2 separate regions of the Homo sapiens genome follow, and region 2 is linked to region 1. Evidence: promoter capture Hi-C in 16 types of primary human blood cells and fetal thymus (Javierre and others, 2016). All regions are on one chromosome and are shown on one strand. The core of a region is centred on a gene start or on the middle of the fragment in contact, and the rest is flanking DNA. Distances in the headings are between cores, read along the strand shown. Region 1 holds the start of STATH (statherin). Region 2 holds the start of UGT2A1 (UDP glucuronosyltransferase family 2 member A1 complex locus).

Region 1 (2,913 bases), core at 125-2,624:
AAATCTCCAAAACATAAAGCAGAACTCATGATTTATGGCATTTGCTTTGTTACTTATTCACTGATTTGCCTCAGTTATTCAAACTGAAATTTCTGGCCGGGTGTGGTGGCTCATGCCTGTAATCACAGCACTTTGGAAGGCCAAGGTGGGCAGATCACCTGTGGTCAGGAGTTCAAGACCAGCCTGACCAACATGGAGAAACCCCGTCTCTACTAAAAATAATAATAATAAAAATTTAGCTGGGCATGGTGGTGAGTGCCTATAATCCCAGCTACTTAGGAAGCTGAGGCAGGAGAATCACTTGAGCCCGGGAGGTGGAGGTTGCGGTGAGCCGAGATTGCACCATTGCACTCCAGCCTGGGCAACAAGAGCGAAACTCTGTCTCAAATTAAAAAAAAAAAAAAAAAAAAAAGGAAATTTCTGGTATTAGAGTAAGTGTAAAAATAATATGTACTTTGGGGTTTTTCTATCACCTGATAGATAAACCTACCCATCAGTCATTTTATGATGCAAAAAGCATAAAAACTTTAGTGTATTTTATACCTGTAAATTTTATTGAAAGTATGGAATCAAAAAATGCTCATAGAAGAGTAGTTTTGTTTTACTAACCTTGATAAACTGAAAGATGGATATATAGACATAGATATATAAATATATATGTCATGGTTTTAAAAAAATATTTCCCCAATGAAAAATAATAAAAATATGAAATAGTAAAATCTTTGTTTTCTGCCATATCACAACTGAATGAAAACAACTTAAGTAATATAAAACAGTAAGGCAGTAAAGCATGACTGTTATACAACATTTTTTATTATGCAGAATGACATAACTGTTTAAAATGATGGAAAGGTCAATGAAAAGGTAGTGAGAAATGTTTACTTATGGGAAAAAAGTAAATTTTTAAAAGTTAAACTTGTGAAACAATATATACATTTGCAAAAAAGAGAACGTATGCTATTTTCTTAAAATATGAACTTCGAATAAAGGTAAAAGTAGTAAGTAGCAGAGTAGATGCCAGTACGTAGACAAGGAAATAAAAAGCTTTTCAGAAGTTCCATCAGGAGAGAAGTTGGAATATGTCTCCATATTCCACATTATTTACTTTGCATGATGATTGCTGATTTCAATGTATAGTTATTCAGATTCTCAACTTACCTTCAGATCCTAAGAAGGTCATCATTTCTCTCAATTGTTTCTTTATGAGAAATTATCATTACATAAATACACATTTTTATAATTAGTTTTCAAAAGATTTTAGGAAGCAACACTCTAGATTAAGACAACATATTCGATTATACATGAACATATTACCTTTTACTCAAGATGAGACTACAGAAGTAGTGAAGTTGAAGTGAAGCTTCAAGAGATGATGTGCTACCCTAGAGGGCCAATGTATTTAAACACTCTGAAGTCCCCCATTTGTTTTTGTTAAATAATGGCAATTATGAGATCACATTATGGAAACTAAAAGTAATGCCCAAAATCTGTCTCTACAAATGATAAAAATAACCGTAACAAAGTGATTTTGCAATAGATGATTGTGAAGACAAAGTAACCAGGAAACAACTGTACCCACTGCATGTTAATCCCACTGTTAGTCTAGCGCTGAGTGAGTCAGATGACAGAAAAGCATGCTGGAGGAAACCAGGCATAGAAATAATTGCAGTGATAAAGATGTTTCCACAAGTATGTGTCCAAGGTGGAACAACTCTATGACACAAATAATACTTACCATGTTATCAAGATTTTACATGTTCTCTGATAACTCGTGGTAACTGGCATAATAAAATTACAGTCTTCATATACTTCAAGAGTTTTTCTTCAAATCATTATTTATCTCATACTTTTACCATCTTCTATTGACTTTAGAATATTTTAAGTTACAAAGTGAACGTAAACATTTGCCAAATTCAGTAATCTTTTGGGTACTATATGATAAAAAATTATTATATTTATGGTGAAATGACTCTAAGTGCTCACTGATACATATCTCACATATGACTGAATATATGTATTTGGAAATTCAATTTAATTTCCTGGAGTTTTTAAGGCTACATATTTTTCCATAGCAGCCATGTGTTGACATGATTACACTAGAGTGAAGGAAAAAATGTTTTCATTACATTCCTAGGAAAATTTGTGTAAAAATTACCCTACTCACTGCTGGTTGGATAACTCAATGTACTAAGAAACGAATATCAAAAACTTATATATAAAGTTGAGGTAAGTTATACAGCCTAGTGCATTGTTCCTCAGAGTGTGCCATATGGGAACATCACAGACAGCATCAGCTGGAGCCTGTGGAAATGTAAATTCTTAGTCCACCTTCGCAAACTTGCTGAGTCAGAATCTTGGGGTTGTCCTAAGGCGTTTGCATTTTAACATTATCTCCAGGTGATTCTTTGGGTACTGTGAAGTTTGAAACAAGGCTGGTCTCAGTGGCTCATGTCTGTAATCCCAGCACTTTGGGAGGCCGAGGCAGGAGGATTGCTTGAGCATAGAAGTTCAAGAATAGCCTAGGCAACATAGTGAGACCCGTATCTCCACAAAAACATAAAAAAAAAAACAACCACATATTTGTCTCTTGAATGCATTAGTTATCCTTAGGCTTTAACCAGTAAAGATAATTTGTGGTTTAATTTTGTATCAGATTTTTTAAGGAAGTATTTATTAGGTAAATTTTTATGCTGTATTGGAACAGCCTTACTGGAAATTATGATTACTCTCTGGGTAATATACAAGAAAATATAAATCATTTCTTAAGGCAAATAAATAATTCAAATTAAATTAGATAGATATTATTCTTATTCTTTTGTCATGAGATTTATAAGCATTATAGATACAAAGTTTCTTCTCATGTGTAAAACAAACACAATCTCTTTACATTCTGAGTGGAAAAAAGTTACATAG
Region 2 (2,913 bases), core at 141-2,640, 340 kb after region 1:
ATTTTCAGTTACTGGCTTTGCTCATTCTGTCCTAGATAGAAATTTAACCACCTGTAGCAAGTAAAAATCTTGGACAAGCAAAAAAACTTTTATATTACAGTTAATATATTTGATATAAATTTTACAGTACAGAGAACCAAACAGAAAAGAAGCTTTTTTAAAAAAAAATTAGTTATCAATTATTTGGCTTAAAAGGAATGTGTGTGTGTGTGTGTGTGTGTGTGTGTGTATTTGTGACTGGGATTATAAAAAGATAATAGAGTATGATCAAATAGATTTGAGTGAAAACTACAGGAATTAAAAATATTAATTAACACCCATGCTGTGTTCCAAGTGTGAAGGCAAAAGATATATTACTGCAAGTGTAAAGACTCAGAAAAGTTTCTATTTGAGGGCTCATGTTGAAATATTTGCATGAAGACTCATTTTATTTAGCTGAGAAGTTAATTACATTAGCTATTCAAAATGGAGAAATCATTGTATGAAACACACACATTACTTCTCTTTTATCAAGATTGAACTTGCACTCCATGAATTGATGAATATTTGTAGTCAGATGTATGCAATCCAAGCTGACTTGAACTTAAAGACTTGCTTGGGGCCTCCACTGTTCTTCTTTATTTCCTCTTCAATGTTATCATACAAAGTGTGTCTCTGCCGGACTATGCCATACTTATCAGCTGTATGAAATTTATTTCCACATTTCCATAAGTTTGCTTATCAGCAAAAACAACAAGTGGTGATGTTCTATCTCAGTACTTAGTTATTACTAAATATGACATATTTGGGATGCTATGCCAAAAAACATACTAAGTTATTTTTTGCTACTTCAAAATATTTGCACAAAGAAACAGCAGTAATTTTATTCCCCAAGGATGGTGCATAATGAAGGTGTGCAACTCTAAAAAAGTTATTTCATTATCTAAATTACTATCTTCTTTATTTATGGCAAAGATCAATCAAACCACCCACTTTCATCATCATGAATCAGGAAAATATATATATATAAATAAAAATAAAGACATTTTAATTTTTAAAACTTTTTTCATAATAATATAATAATTGTTTGTTTCATAAGTTTGAGGGATATTAATTGCTCATACTTATTCATAACAATCTCAAGATTACTAATTATTGTCAATCTTATTTTAGATATATCCTGGCATACTTGGTTAGTTGGGGTAGGGGCAGAGACCATGATAGTAAATGCAAAATTCAGGGCAAATAGTTGCTAGGGAACCAACAGAAGGTTACACCTTTGACAAAAGGTTAATCTGCTTCACAGTGTAGTGGGTGGAAAATGTTAAGTATAAACAACTTTACATAATCTTTTTTCCATTTAAGATCATATTACTCATTATATTATGCTTATCCACCTAGGATTTATTTACATTCGGCTTCTTCCTAATGTCAAATGAGTGCTGTTAAAGTTCCTCCAGGAAACTTCAGGTAAGAAACTAGAAAACTTCATGATAATCAATATAAAATGTATATTTTAATTTATTTTCCATTCTCTTCTTAAAGAAATATCAATCTTTAAAACGCTGGTTTACCTTTTGGTTTGTTTCATTGCTTACCCATGAAAGCATTATTAGTTCTACTTTATAATTTGATGGATTTTTCTCCCAGATTTTATACTTCAAAATAATTTTACAGATATCGAGGGAACTGTGTGGACAGAGCAGTAAGTTGAGAGTTTTGTCTAAGTGTGAACTCAAAGTCCTCTTTAGGGATTCTTCTCATGCCTTTTGTTCCTACCAGTGGAGAGTTGTTTGTTCCTTCATTAGATGACACATAAAGTGACAAATAAGAAACTTTATACTGATATATGGTGAAGACAAGAATAATGTACACAAGTGACCACTGTGGTCCTTAAGACAACACATGAATGAGAGGATGTGAGATGTCATCTTTAGTGGGTATTTTATTTTCTTAATATTGTTTAATGGATTTTTAAATATTTATTTTAAAATCTATTTACTTTAAATATAAGTCAAATGTTTTATGCTATAAATCAAATAAGTTTTATGCAAAATCAATTTTATTTATTAAAAAAAGAAAATAATGGCCAGGCGCGGTGGCTCACCCCTGTAATCCCAGCACTTTGGGAGGCCGAGGAGGGTGGATCACCTCTGGTCAGAAGTTCAAGACCAGGTGAAACCCCGTCTCTACTAAATATACAAAAATTAGACAGGTGTGGTGGTGGTCGCCTATAATCCCAGCTACTCGGGAGGCTGAGGCAGGAGAATAGCTTGAACCCGGGAAATGGAGGTTGCAGTGACCCGAGATTATGCCCTTGCACTCCAGCTTGGACAACAAGAGCAAAACTTGGTCTCAAAAAAAAAAAAAAAAAAGGACATAAAGTTTTTCTAAAGAAAATGCTGTTGTAAAAGCAATAACCAATTGTGTTAATGTGAATGCCATGCTAACTCCTTTTGTATGCAGTTGTTAACCAGTAGAAGGCATCTGAGTTATCAGTGGCGAATCCTTACAGGTCTGAAGCAACTTCAATTCTTGCCTCCTCAGAAGTAAGAATTTGACTGGGGGGCATCAGGCAGATGAGACTGACGGGAGTTTCAGAGCAGGAGCGGAAGTTTATTTTAAAGGCTTTAGAACAGGAAAGAAAGGAAAACGTACTTGGAAGAGACTCAAGTGGGCACCTGAAGTGCCCCGTTTAACCTCGATCCTAGGACTTTATAGGCTCGCCTCTTTTCCATGATTCTTCCCTTAGGGTGGGCTGCCCACATGTGCAGTGCCCTTCTTACCCTTGGGAAATGAGCATGCACAGTCTGTTTAGGAAGTTGTATATATGCTCATCTGAGGCTTTCTTCCCTTTTTTGGTAAAGTGTCCTTGGATGGTCACACTTCAACATTTTGTCTCTTAATGCACGTGCCCAGGCAGTCGCTCCTCTC

What was found. The method cuts DNA at HindIII sites, captures the fragments that hold promoters and counts their contacts. A CHiCAGO score of 5 or more calls a contact.
Region 2: the fragment with the promoter of UGT2A1 here is called in contact with the fragment with the promoter of STATH in region 1 in 6 of 17 cell types (neutrophils, M2 macrophages, endothelial precursors and 3 more); the score reaches 7.1 in neutrophils.

The regions. Positions count from the first base shown.
Region 1 is chr4:69,994,427-69,997,339 of GRCh38, reverse strand. It overlaps STATH (statherin), which reads right to left and starts at 1,374. Exons shown (of 6, transcript NM_003154.3): 1 at 1,315-1,374. The HindIII fragment of the contact is 2,895 bases long and covers 1,363-2,913 here.
Region 2 is chr4:69,651,724-69,654,636 of GRCh38, reverse strand. It overlaps UGT2A1 (UDP glucuronosyltransferase family 2 member A1 complex locus), which reads left to right and starts at 1,390. Exons shown (of 7, transcript NM_001252275.3): 1 at 1,390-1,449. The HindIII fragment of the contact is 6,501 bases long and covers 155-2,913 here.